2 separate regions of the Homo sapiens genome follow, and region 2 is linked to region 1. The links are contacts of gene promoters, found by promoter capture Hi-C in blood cells and fetal thymus (Javierre and others, 2016). All regions are on one chromosome and are shown on one strand. The core of a region is centred on a gene start or on the middle of the fragment in contact, and the rest is flanking DNA. Distances in the headings are between cores, read along the strand shown.

The links. The method cuts DNA at HindIII sites, captures the fragments that hold promoters and counts their contacts. A CHiCAGO score of 5 or more calls a contact.
Region 2: a fragment that was not itself captured here is called in contact with the fragment with the promoter of TMEM35A in region 1 in 1 of 17 cell types (naive B cells); the score reaches 5.4 in naive B cells.

What each region holds. Positions count from the first base shown.
Region 1 is chrX:101,075,773-101,083,137 of GRCh38, reverse strand. TMEM35A (transmembrane protein 35A) reads right to left here and starts at 4,259. Exons shown (of 2, transcript NM_021637.3): 1 at 4,016-4,259. The coding sequence starts at 4,135. The HindIII fragment of the contact is 5,349 bases long and covers 2,339-7,365 here.
Region 2 is chrX:100,900,669-100,908,033 of GRCh38, reverse strand. It overlaps a transcript of XKRX not described here. Among named protein-coding and RNA genes, the nearest start is that of XKRX, 25 kb to the left of the region's middle. The HindIII fragment of the contact is 171 bases long and covers 3,346-3,516 here.

The sequences.
Region 1 (7,365 bases), core at 3,010-5,509:
CTAAATCTGGAGGAGGTATGGGACAACACATGCCAAATGGGCTATTCAGAGATGCATCTGGAAGTTCTGCATGAGATCCACTGTACACTACACAGCAGCAAGTGTGGATTTTTCAATATTAATTGATTGCATAAAGGTCTGTCCACAAGGGCACATGAAAATAGCATCTTGTTCTTCTAAATGCTTGATTTCAGGCTGGGGGTGGTGGCTCACACCTGTAATCCCAGCACTTTGGGAGGCTGAGATGGGTGGATCACCTGAGGTCAGGAGTTCGCAACCAGACTGACCAACACAGTGAAACCCCATCTCTACTAAAAATACAAAAATTAGGCAGGCATGGTGGCACGCACCTGTAATCCCAGCTACTCCGGAGGCTGAGGCAGGAGAATCGCTTGAACCCGGGAGGCAGAGGTTGCAGTGACCCAAGATCATACCATTGCACTCCAGCCTGGGCAACAAGAGCAAAACTCCGTCTCATAAATAAATAAATATATATATATGCTTGATTTCAATCCCTTAAACTAGCTATTTAAATCAGTTAGGAAACCACTCCATAAAACAGAATTACTTATCATAATCACCTCACCCAAAGCATTTCTTGAACACATACTATAGCAAACACTGTACCAGACACTTTTATACATAATCTCAGTTAATGTTTACAGCCTTCTAAGGTAGGCACTCCTTCCCCCCACCCCCCGCCCTTAGGATGGTCTGTTTCTTAAGTGGTAGGCATTCTTATCCCCATTTTAAGAATAAAGAAACTGAGACACCAAGAGTAGCAGGACCTGAACCCAAGCCTGTGTGACCATAAAGCCTGCACTCTTTCCACTAACCCTTGCTGGCTTCTCCAGTAGAAACAGGAGAAAAGTTCATAGTCATTTGTTTGGTTTTTTAGCAATGATTCTCCCTGGAGAAGATAACACCTAAGAATTACACAAATGATTTTAAAACAAGAAAAAAAATAGTTGGCAGAAAAGCAAAAAAAAAAAAAAAAAAAAAAAGAAAGAAAGAAAAAGAAAAAAGAAATCAAATCAAAAATCTAAATTTTAAAAATTGATTTTGTAGTAAAACAAAATTGAAAATATGCATTGGGCAGTTAAACTGGTACAATAAAAGGAGGAAGACTGTGCCAGGTGTTCTCAAGAATCGGTTGTCAGTTCTGGCATCCATAAAAACCAACAGTTTTAACCATTAATGATCTTTCTATTGGGAGTATTGAGTCATGGACTTGGTTTCTCATCTCTGCTCCAACAACAGCTTACCTTTCTGGCCTTGGATATGTCATTAAACTTGTTCTGCTTTAGTTTATCCATCAGTAAAATAAAAATAACGAATACACTAAATCTACCTCACAGACATGTTCTAAAGAACAAATAATCTTAAAACAACAACAGCAGCAACAACGCTTTGAGATCTTATAAGAAATGCCACTGCAGTCAATACATGACTAACCTCCTCGATGCAGAGGAATCCACTCCTTAATGGAAAACAAAAAATCCCAGATAATCATCCCAGCTGATCTAGGGTTGGGGTTCTGAGAGACTCTGCCTCTGAGAGACAGGGGCTTCTTAGAGAGTCCCTCTAAGAGGCAAGAAATGGCTCCTGAACTGCATAATCAAGAGCCAAACAGAGAAATCTGAAGGGTGGTAACAAGCCAAGGCAATGCTACAATGACTCATTCATTCACCCAACCACTCCACAAATACATATTGAGCACCTTCTCTGTACTAGAACTGAATTTCCCTCCCTTTCCTATGGGAACGAGAATAAAGCTGGGCCAAGCCCAGGCACTATGCAGTAGGCTTTATGCCAGAGAGCAATCTCCAGTCTATGGCCCGATGCTCAATGCAGGAGAGGACCCTGGAAAAGGGCAGTCTGAAAATCCTCTTCAAACTATTGTGACGTCTACTTCTCAGTTAGATACAATCTTTCCATTCCCTCTAGATGCCCCTAGCACAGAAGTGCAGAAGTGTGCATACACACCCACACACAATGGTTCTATATTGCTGTGTTACACTATATCTATTTAAATATGTTCCTATGTATGATATGAAATCTTCATATTTGTTTCTTCTGCCTTTCATTAGGCTGCACTAGACAGCTCCATTTCTAGGAAGAAACATACTGTAAACCCATTTGTGGCTGGTCCTCCTTGTGAGCTCCTGCTAAGCTGGTAGGAAGCTTCCCGGTGACTCCATCTTAGTTGGATTGCCTGCAGAGCCTAACACTGTACTTAGGGTGCAGCTTGGGGGGGCCTCTGAAGCAGCTGACTAGGGTCTGGAGGGCAGGGAGTATACTGAAGAAAGGTAGTGTGTCCCTAAGGCTAGGGAAAGCTTACACATACCTATGATGCACACACACAAATATATAAATATATGTACATATGAAAAGTAAAGCAAGAGCATGTTCATTTATTCATAATCTAACACCAAACTGCTACCACCAAGACAGAAATATAATGGCATTTCCCCTCCACCCTGTCCCTCTGTCCCAACCTCTTCAAGCCATTTGGTGGCTTCTGCTACCCCACCCTGTCCCTCTTCTCCCAGTGCAGGCTGCCTCGGGTACTCATTTTGACCTGATTTCAATTCCATCTGGTCAAACATGCTGGGAGGAGGGGAAGGGAGAAGGAGAAGCATGTAAGGATTTGCCACTGGGGCTAGACCTAAGCCCTTGTCACCCTCCCCAACCCTAGGGTGATCCTGCGGTGAGGAAGAAATGGAAAGCTCCAGCTTAAACCCTGAGACAGAAGCCAGAGCTGCCTGCAAACATTTTCTGAGCATCTATTAATATAATTTGCCAGTCTCCATCCATTTGCAGCTCACGTTAAGGGGCCCTGGAAAGCTCTGCAGTGGGTTCAGGAGAGCTATGAATTCCTCGCAATGTGTGAGGCTGTTCCTCCCTGCCTCAGCCCTAAAAGGGCTTGCCTCTTTTCTCTTTCCCCTTCTGTTCCTCCCCTAAGCTCCTTTCTCTCTTGACCTTGAGAGCCCAATGATGTGCTCCTTCCCATTATTGGAAGTCTGGCAAAGGCGACGAGAAGCAGCTGGGGTGGGGAAAAGAAGAGGCAAAGTGACAGGGGAAGAAGGGACAGACCCGAAAGTGCTGGAAACATTCCCTGCCATCTCCTAGTACTCCACAGCATAAGAGCAAGTCCTCATCACGCCCAACTGGGGAAAGCAGCCCAGCCCCCAGGTTGCAGAGGAGATGTTTTGGCCAGTCACCTTCCGTGATTGATTCCAACTCTGCAGAGGGGAAAACCTGCAGAGGGCCTGGCTCTGGTCATCCACAGAAGGCAAGGTGGGGATTACGGACTGTTTGCGGGAGAGAAAAAGCAGACTTTGCAGATTTTGTAGATTACCCCACACACAAAACAAAATAAAACAAAACATCTAGCTCTCCCTTGAGAGAAGGGGAAGAAACAAGAGCTTAGTGACCTTTATTTGGGCCAAGAATGCTTTGTCTCAAGGATCCAGATACATACCCAGGTGGCTGGAGGAATACTATCAGCTGTCTGCCTGGGATGAGGAATACCAGTCAGCCCCTAAAAATTGCTTGTTTTAGTAGCCCATTTTTCCCAGCTCTTTTCCTCTTTCCCTTTTGTTCTGCTCTAAAATAAATAAACTCTCCGCTTGCTAAACTCTTAGCTCACAGGGAGGGAATCAGACTTGTATACTGGTTGCCCGGACTTTGGGTGTGTGCTGGAAGGAGGGAAGGGCTCCTGCCAATGACAGGTGCTACGCAGGTCTCAGCCTTCTGGTTTACTTGGGATGGGGGGTATTCGCTGCGCAACCCCTCCCCCAACTGGCATTCAGTGGCTCCAGAACAGCATAGCCCACAAAAGAAATCGCTCTTGCCCAGCTGCTCCTTCCGAGCTGCAAAGTTGTTGAGAACGGAGGGTCCAGGTGGGGATAGGGGCTAAGGGGGTGGGACCAGAAACTGAGAAGGAAAAAAGGGGAGAGGTCCTCGCAATCCCATGGGAGTGCGCTCCTCATCACCCGTTTGCTTCACTTACCATCTCACTGTAGGCATCCTTGCTGAGCCTGGGGGTCAGCTTGATAGTCCCCATGAAAACAAAGAAGAGTCCCAGGGCCACTGAGAGGGCCACAATAGTTACGGTTCTGGGGGATGCCATGGGGTCGCCAAGGCAGGTCCCAACTAATCCTTCTGATTTGCGCACCCGCTCTGTCCAAGGTGCAGGCAGTTAGCACAGGGAGAGCTGGGGGGACGCTGCGGAGGCAGCAGGCAGCTAGAATGACAAAGGGAGAGGAGGGAGCTCGAGAGAAAAATTGAGAGATCGAGATTCAACCACTCTCACTACAACAAACGCTGGGTCCTAATGCCCTACGTGTGCTCACAGGCCAAAAGGACAGTCTCGAAGTTAAATGAAGCCCTAAAGGAAAGACGGAAACTTCAAATCTTAAATGGGGAGAAGGGAGGTTATGTATGAGTTCAGTCACCAAGTGACCCCAGGAATGAGGAATTAGGGAAGACAGGCTTTGCTGCCACCTTCCCACCGGGCTCACTTTTCATCTCCCCCTCCCACTTATCATCCTTCAGTTATTCACTCCCTTTTTCCATCTCTTCCTTTGTGTCCCCCTTTCCTTTTCCTAAATCAAAATATTAGCCCTCAGAGAGTTGTTTCTGAAGTTCGTAACACTCAAGGATAAAACTGCAAATTTGTCAGCCTTCAATGCTGCCAAAGAAGGCTTCCTCTTTCTCTTGCTCAGAAATCTTTAATGACTCTCATAGCCAGTGGTTAACTCCAGTTTTAAATTTGGAATTCAAGGCCCTCCACATTTTGACCCCTGTCTCTCTTTGGAGATTTAGTTTTCAATGGCTCCCACTGCCACACGCCACCACTCATCTATCTACTCACGGCCTCACACAACCTACGCCTTACCACCTCCTCTACCTTTAACTCCCTATCTTTTGACCCCGCCCCCCACCATCACTCTTCATTAGCATTAAACCTTTTCTTTAATGTCACCTCCTCTATAAAGCCTTTCCTGATCCATTGTCAGTTAGATATGATTTCTCCCTCCTCCAATTTTCTATAACAATAACCAATAATTGTCAACTGTTTACTAGATGCTAGACGCTGCCCTCTACTTGTATTAACTAATTTAATCTTTACAGCAACACTATGGACTAGGTATGAGTCCCCATGCTATGAATGGGCACATTGAGGGGCTGGGAAGGTAGGTAACTTGCCCAGGAGTATACAGCTAGTAAGTGGAGAGCCAGGCCTCAAACCTAGGCAGTCATTTCTAGGGCCCAGGCTCTTAACAATTGCTCTGCTGCCTCTCCTGTAATATTTTTCACTATTAGTGTGGTACTTAAAGTTGTTTAGCACTGTAAATGCTCACGCACACACACACAGAGTTTTGTTTTGTTTAGAGACAAAGTCTCACTCAAGTGATCCTCCATCTCAGCCTCCGGAGTAGCTGGGATCACAGGCACATGCCGCCATGCCTGGCTAATTTTTTTATTTTTTGTGGAGTCAGAGCCTTGTGATGTTGTCCAGGCTGATTTCTAACTCCTGGATTCAAGGGATCCTTCCGCCTCGGCCTCCCAGAGTGTTGCGATTACAGGCATGAGCCACGGAGCCCAGCCCTACACGATTTTTTTTTTTTTTGAGACCCTGCAGAGGGTCTCCCTCTGCAACCTCAACCTCGTGGGCTCAAGTGAGAGGCTCTCTCTTGTAGCTGGGACTACAAGTCTCTCAAGTAGCTGGGACTACAGGCACGTGTCACCACACCCGGGTAATTTATTTTTTATTTTCTGTAGACATGGGGCTACCTTATGTCAACCAGGCTGGTCTTGAACTCCTGGGCTCCAGCGATCCTCCTGCCTTGGCCTGCCAAAGCATTGGGATTACAGGCATGAGCCACCATGCTCAGCCCTAAACAATCATTTTTAATGATTGTATAAAACTTTAGCATCACTTGAATGTACTATAGTTCTCATTCATTTTGCATCCTATTGCTAGATATTGATGTTGTTTCCATGGTTTTTACTTTTACAAATAAAAATGTGATGCATGGCCAGGCGTGGTGGCTCACGCCTATAATCTCAGCAATTTGGGAGGCCGAGGCAGGCAGATCACCTGAAGTCAGGAGTTCAAGACCAGCCTGACCAGCATGGTGAAACTGTAACCTCCCAAGGGGTTCACCTTGCCCGCTGCCTAGACAGAGCCCATTCATCAAGACAGGGGAATTGCAACAGAGAAAGAGTAATTCACGCAGAGCCCACATGCGGGAGACCAGAGTTTTATTACTCAAATCAGTCTCCCTGACCATTTGGGGAGCAAAGTTTTTTGTTTGCTTGTTTTGTTGTGCTTTTTTGAGACAAAGTCTTGCTCTGTCGCTCAGGCTGGAGTGCAGTGGTGCAATCTAGGCTTGCTGCAACCTCCACCTCCTGGGTTCAAGTGATTTTCCTGCCTCAGCCTCCCCAGTAGCTGGGATTACAGGCATATGCCACCACACCTGGATAATTTTTGTATTTTTAGTAGAGACAGGGTTTCACCATATTGGCCAGGCTGGTCTCGAACTCCTAACCTCAGGTGATTTGCCCGCCTCGGCCTCCCAAAGTGCTGGGATTACAGGTGTGAGCCACCATGCCTGGCCGGGGAGCAGAGTTTTTAAGGATAACTTGGTAGGTCGGGGAAAGCCAGTGAGCCAGGAGTGCTGATTGGTCAAGGATGAAATCATAGGGAGTCAAAGCTGTTTTCTTGTGCTGAGTCAGTTCCTGGGTGGGGGCCATAAGATCACATGAGCCAGTTTATTGATCTGGGTGGTGCCAGCTGATTTATCAAGTGCAGGGTCTACAAAATATCTCAAACACTGATCTTTGGAGCAGTTTAGGGAGGCTCAGAATCTTATAGCCTCCAGCTGCATGACCCCTAAACCATAATTTCTGATCTTGTGGCTAATGTTAGTCCTACAAAGGCAATCTAGTCGCCAGGCAGGAAGGAGGTCTGCTTTGGGAAAGGGCTGTTACCATATTTGTTTAAACTATAAACTATAAACTACATTTCTCCCGAAGTTAGTTCAGCCTACCCCCAGGAATGAACAAGAACAGCTTGGAGGTTAGAAGCAAGATGGAGTCAGCTAAGTTAGATCTCTTTCACTCTCTCAGTCATAATTTTACAAAGGCGGTTTCAATCCCTCCCTTTGGGTTTTATAATACCTTAATCTTAAGGTATAGGCTATGAAGATGGGAAAAGGCCATCAATCACTCTGGCCTCTTCCTGCTGACAGGGGATGTAGTGGGATTGGGAGTGAACCCCAAGGTGAGAAGAGTGGAACTGCTTTACAATTAATTGTCTGAGCATACTCATGCCGGCCTGGTTGAGCTTCCAAG
Region 2 (7,365 bases), core at 2,182-4,681, 170 kb after region 1:
AATGCATCATTGTTAGGATAAGCCCTCTGAGTTATACATATGGATTTGCATTGTTTTAACATTCAATTCACCAAGGATTAAGCTTTTATTTTTTGCCAAGAAAACCTATATGGATATCTCAAAATGCTGTGTAGATCCTGAAAGATTTAAAAATGAATTCCATATAACTAGTGTAAGAGATGTGGGAGATAAACAGTTACTCTCACACATTATTGGTATGAGTGTAAGATATTGATGTACATTTTGAAAGGTGATTTGTTAATATTTGTGAAAATTAAATTGACATGCATTGTGTCTCAGAATTTTAACCACCAGAAAATTTTCCTATGGAAACATAGTCACAATTACACGAAGAGTTATGCATAGGGGTGTTCATTGCCCCTCTATTTATCATGGTGAAAAACTGGTAACTTAAATTTTCATCTATGGGGAAATGACTAAACTGTAACAGTTCCATAATTGGAATACTATCTACCCATTAAGAGGAATGGGGTAGCTGCATACAGCATGTGCTGAATGAAAAGATAAGGGACAGGTCAGATGTGGTGGCTCACGCCTGTAATCCCAGCACTTTGGGAGGCCAAGGCAGGAGGATTGCTTGAACTTAGGAATCTGAGATCAGCCTGGGCAACAGAGTGAGACCGCAACTCTACTAAAAAGAAAAAGAAAAATCAGTCAGGCATGGTGGTGTGTACCTGTCGTCCCAGCTACTTGGGAGGCTGAGGTGGGAGGATCACTTGAGATCAGAAGATTGAGGCTGCAGTGAGCCATGATCGCACCACTGCACCCCAGACTGGGTGACACAGCAAGACCCTGTCTCAAAAACTAAAAAAAAAATTTTTTAAGTGACAAAAGCAAGTTGAAGAATAAAATGTCTAAGATGAGGCTATAAAAAATCATTCAAAATTTGGAAGCAAGAGTAAGACGGGAAGAATAATGACTACCCCTACTTAAGATCTCCATGTCCTGCTCCTCAGAACCTGTGAATATGTTATGTTACATAGCTGGGGGAATTAAGGTTGCAAATCAGTTTACCTTGAAATAGGGGAGTTACCTTGAATTATCCAGGTGTGCCTGGTGTAATCCCAAGGATCCTTATAAGAGAAAAGGTGATGCGAAGATGGAGGCAGAGAGATTTGAGGATGCTATGCTGTTGGTTTTAAAGATGGAGGAAGAGGCCACGAACCAAGGAATGCGAGAAAGCAGCTTCAGAAGCTGGAAAAAGCATGGAAATATTCTCTCATAGAACCTCCAAAAGGAACATGGCCCTTCTGACATGGCTGTTTCAGCCCTTGTGAAACAGATTTCTAACTTCTGATCTCCAGAACTGTTAAGAGAATAAATGTGTGTTGTTTTAAGCCACCTAGTTTTTGGTAATTTGTTACAGCAGCACTAGGAAACAAATACAAAAGGAAAGATGACTACTTGATGCTTTAATGTCATGTTAAGATAATTTTTTTAACAGGCCTCTCTGAGGGTCATCTGACTCTCTAGGTCTAGATAATTGCAATTTAACACAATTGATGAGATTCCAGTGATTTTACAATTCTGTAAAACTGGCAAGATGCAGTGACATTGTTTTCTGTCCACCTAAAGAAGACACCACAGGGAGAAGGGGAGGGATGAATAAGTGGAGCACAGAGGATTTTTCAGGGCAGTGAAATTACTCTGTAGGATACTACATTGGTGGGTACATATCATTACATATTTGTCCAAACCCATAGAATGTACAACATCAAGAGTGAACCTTAATGTAAACTATGAACTTTGGGTGATTATGATGTGTCAATGTATCTTCATCAATTGTAACAAATGCACTACTCTGATGAGGGATGTTGATGAAGAGGGAGGCTATGCACTTGTGGGGGGAGGGGATATATGGAAAATCTTCCTACCTTCCTTTCAGTTTTGCTGTGAACCTAAAACTGCTCTTAAAAGTAGTCTTTTTTAAAAGAAAAACCTGGAATATAACATTATTGGATGAAACAATCAATTATGTTAATATTGACAATTGATTTAATAGAACTGTCTTGGCTCTAAAATTGTAATTTTAAATGCATCTTTGTAGAAATGAAACTATATCTTAAACTATATGTTCATTAAATTATTTTTTAAAAGACACCACTATTTTGGTTCTTATTGCCCTGTAGAACATTAACCAGCTTTGATTCTAATTTAGCAATCTTATTTTAGCATTCCTTTGGTGTTTTTACTGACTATATATAAAATACCTGTTTTCATATCCTCTTTTGAGTTGGCTGCCACCTTACTGGTTTCCTCCTCAATGAGTTAAATAAATCTTTGATACATATGAATTCTCTATTTGTATGAAACTTATGTTTATTTGTTTTAGATTTATTTTGAGAATCATATGTTAACAATGATCCCATTTTTGTAAAATACAAAACCAACAATATGGGGGGGTAGAGGAAAATGTTTCAAGCTTTTTTCAGCAGTTCTGTTTGGGAAGGTGGGAGAGAATACTAGAGATTTCTCCTGTGTTTAGTGTTTTGCAACATTTAGATTTTGTATAAATTTACACGATATTTGTAATCAGAAAAATACATTGCTTTAAAAAGTAAATATGTATGAAAATGATTCACACACAGTGTGTGCCCTCAACAAGTTTAAGATCTGGCTAAAGATAGAGACATGCTTCATTCAACTAAATAGAAATACAAGGCCAGTTATGATAGATGCCTTTGAAGGAAGAGGGCTATCATCTGTTGAGTGCTTATGAGATACCAAGGGCCATCTTGGATCATTAATATAGATTCATTTTATCATCACAATGACTCTGTGAGGTAGATTCTGTCTCTCTTTTTCATATAAAAAAGCTGAAGCTGAGAGTAACTTGCCCACGGTCACACAGCTACTAAGACAAAGAGCCAGAATTTAAGCCCTGGTCTTATTCCAAAGCTCATATTCTTTCCATTTTACTATACTACCTCCCATAGATGTTGGGACCCATGGTCTGGACTGGGTAGGACTGAAGTCAGTGAGCATTTTATACTCATTGTTGGTTCTTTAAATTGGGGCAGATCTATTCATACATCACACAGAAAACAGGCAAAAGGCGTCTGTTTCCAATATTTATCCAAACCAGCTCATGGTTTAGCCTTCTCTATATGGTTCCCTGCCCTCCATGTGCTTATATTCTTGGCTTTGGGCTCCAGCCCTTCTTCCTTTCCTGACCCGTTTGGCTCTGCTTCTCTGGTTTACCAACTTCTACCTGCCTCACTTGATTTTCCAACTTGCTCTTCTCCATCGGATTGGCTCACTTACCCATAAGACCTTCCTTCTGCCAGCCTCAACCCCCAGGTATCAACACCTGCTGGACAAGCTTCCTTGTCTCCCAGCCAGGAGAGTAGGATTAAACAGGCATAGCCAGGTCAGAAAACTTGAACTTCCCTGGGAGTGGCATGGAAGAATCATGTGCTTAGGGCGCCAAGCCAGGAATTCAGCACCAGAGCAGGAAAGCAGGAACTTATTTAATTAAGAATGAAGTTGAAAGCTTTTTAATTTTAATGAAGTCCAGCTTATCAATTATTCCATGGATCATACCTTTGGTATTGTATCTAAAAGGTCATCATCATATCCAATGTCATCTAGATTTTCTCCTATGTTATCTTCTAGGAGTTTTATCATTTTGTGTTTTACATTTAAGTCTCTGATCCATTTCGAGTTAATTTTTTGAAGGGTGTAAGGTCTGGGTGTTTTTTTTGTTTTTTGTTTGTTTGTTTGTTTGTTTCTGCATGTGTATGTCTGGTTATTCCAGTATTATTTGTTGAAAAGACCATCTTTGCTCCATGGTATTGCATTTGCTCCTTTACCAAACATCAGTTGACTATTTATGTGAGTCTATTTCTGGGCTATCTCTACTGTCCCATTGATCTATTTGTCTACCCTTTCACCAATACCACACAGTCTTGATTACTGTAGCTTTATAGTAAGTCTTGAAATTTGGTAGCGTCAACCTCTTTGTTCTTCCTTTCCAATACCAAGTTGGCTATTCTGGGCCTTTTGCTTCTCCATAAATACTTTAGAATCAGTTTATTGATATCCACAAAATAATTTGCTGGGATTTTGATTGGGATTGTATTCAAGCTATAGAAGAATTTGGGAAGAACTGACAGCTTGACAATATTGATTCTTCTTATCCATGAACATGGACTATTTCTTCATTTATTTAGTTATTATTTGATATCTTCCATCAAAGTTTTGTAGTTTTCTTTATATAGAACTTGTACTTATCTTGTTAAATTTATACTTAAGTATTTTATTTTGGGGGGTGCTAATGTAAATGTGCATATGAAAAGATATTTGACATCATATGTCATTAAGGAATTGCAAATTAAAACAACAACAAGATACTACTACACACCTGTTAGAATGTCCAAAATCCAAAACACTGATAATACCAAATGCTGTAGAGCAACAGGAACTCCATTTCATTGAAGGTGGGAATAAAAATGGTACAGTCAGTTTGGAAGACAATTTGGTAGTTTCTTACAAAACTAAATATACTCTTACCATACAATCCAGCAATCATGCTCCTTGATCTGTTATAAATTTCAAATTCTACTTGTTCATTGCTGGTATATAGGAAAGCAATTAATTTTTGTATATTAATTTTGTATCCTGCAACCCTGCTATAATTGTTTATTAGTTCCAGTTCCAGCAGTTTTTTGTCAATTATTTCAGATTTTCTGCATAGAAAATTATGTTAACTACAAAGACACTTTTATTTCTTTCTTCCCAATCCATATACAGTTTATTTCCTTTTCTTGCTTTATTGCATTATCTAGGACTTCCAATATGTTGGAATGCAGTGCTGAGATGAAACGTTCTTGCCTTTTTTTGTTGTTATTTGTCTTTTTGTTTTTTTCCTTGTTTCTGATCTTAGCAGAAAGCTCCAAGTTTCTCACCATGAAGTATGATGTTAGTTGTAGGTTTTTTGTTTTTTTTTTTAAATAGATGTTCTTGGCCAGGTGCGGTGGCTCACGACTGTAATCCCAGCACTCTGGGAGGCCGAGGTGGGTGGATCATGAGGTCAGGAGATCGAGACCATCCTGGCTAACACAGTGAAACCCCATCTCTACTAAAAATGTAAAAAAATAGCCGGGCATGGTGGCGGGCACCTGTAGTCCAGGTACTCGGGAGGCTGAGGCAGGAGAATGGCGTGAACCCTGGAGGCGGAGCTTGCAGTGAGACGAGATCACGCCACTGCACTCCAGCCTGGGTGACAGAGCGAGACTCCATCTAAAAAAAAAAAATAGATGTTCTTTATCAAATTGAGGAAATTCCCCTCCATTCCTAGTTTGTCAAACATTTTTATCATGCATGGATGTTAGATTTTGTCAGCTTTTTTCTGTATGTATTAATAGGATCATATGGTTGCTATTTAGTCTGTTAATATGATGAATTACATTAATTGATTTATAAATGATAGAACAGACTTTCATTCTTGGGATGAATCCCACTTGTTCTTGATATATTATTATTTTTTATATTGTTGGATTAAATTTGCTAATACTTTGTTAAGAATTTTTGCACCTATGTTCATGAGAGGTATTTGTCATTTTCTTGTAATGTTTTGTCTGGACTTGGTATTACGGTAATGCTGGCCTCATAAAATAAGTTGGGAATTGTTTCATTCTTTTCCACTTTCTGGGAAAGGTTATAGGCAGTTGGTATCATTTTATATCTTTCATTTCTAATATATGCATATAATGCCATAATTTTCCCCCTCAGCACTGCTTTCACTGCATTCCACAAATTTTGATAAGATGTATTTTAATTTTCATTTAGTTCAAAATATGTTTTAATTTCTAGACTTATTCTTTGACCTGTGAGTTATTTAGAACTGTATTGTTTAATTTCCAAATATCTGGGAACTTTTCAGCTATCTTTCTGTTACTGATTTCTAGCTTAATTTTTTTTTTGTCTGAGAATGCATTTTGTATGATTTCTATTCTTTTAAATGTGTTGAGTGTATTTTATCATCTAAAATGTGATATCTTTTTTTTTTTTTCAGATGGAGTTTCGCTGTTGTTGCCCAGGCTGGAGTGCAATGGCACAATCTCAGCTCACTGCAACCTCCACCTCCTGGGTTCAAGCAATTCTCCTGCCTCAGCCTCCCAAGTAGCTGGGATTACAGGCATGTGCCACCATGCCTGGCTAATTTTGTATTTTTGGTAGAGACAGGGTTTCACCATGTTGGTCCGGCTAGTCTTGAACTCCTGACCTCAGGTGATCCACTCGCCTCAGCCTCCCAAAGCATTGGAATTACAGGTGTGAGCCGTCATGCCCAGCCTCAAAATGTGATATCTTGATGAATGTTCCATGTGCACTTAGGCAGAATGTATTCTGCTGCTGTTGGGTGAAGTGTTTTGTAAATGTCCATTAGGTCAAATTGGTTGATAGTACTGTTAAGGTCATCTGTATCTTACTAATTTTCTGTCTGATCTTTAAATTACTGAAAGAAGGGTATTGAAATCTCTCACTTGTGGATTTTTCTGTGTCTCCTATCAGTTTTACTAGTTTTCTTTCATGGATTTTTAGGCTCTGTTGTTGCATGCATGTTTAGGATGGTATGTCTTCCTGGAGAATTGACCATTTTATTATTATGTAATGCCTCTTTTGTTCAAAGACTTTTTTTCTGAAATTAATATAGCTACTCCAGTTTTATTTTGCTTAGTGTTTGCATGGTATATCTTCATTCTTTAATTTTTAACCTAATTCTTTAAATGTAAAGTGAATTTCTTATAGACTGCTTACATTTGGGGCTTTTTCTCCCATTATTCTTTCTTTATTATTTACACTTATGACACATGATATATACACACATATGTATATAGATAGATACATACACACAAACCAATGGCACCAACTTTGGTGTACATCAGAGTTACTTAAGGAGCTCGTTAAAAATGGAGATTGTGGGCCAGGTGCGGTGGCTCACGCCTGTAATCCCAGCACTTTGGGAGGCCAAGGCGGGCAGATCACGAGGTCAGGAGATCGAGACCATCCTGGCTAACACGGTAAAACCCCGTCTCTACTAAAAATACAAAAAAATTAGCCAGGCGTGGTGGTGGGCTCCTGTAGTCCCAGCTACTCGGGAGGCTGAGGCAGGAGAATGGCGTGAACCCGGGAGGCAGAGCTTGCAGTGAGCCGAGATCGTGACACTGCACTCCAGCCTAGGCGACAGAACAAGACTCTGTCTCAAAAAAAAAAAAAAAAAAAGGAGATTGTGAAGCTGGGTCTCGAGGATAGGGGCCAGAGGTCCTACATTCTCAAACCCCCCTTCCCCTTAAGGTGTTTTTATATATATGATAGATTCAGTCTTTGAAAACCAGTAGGACA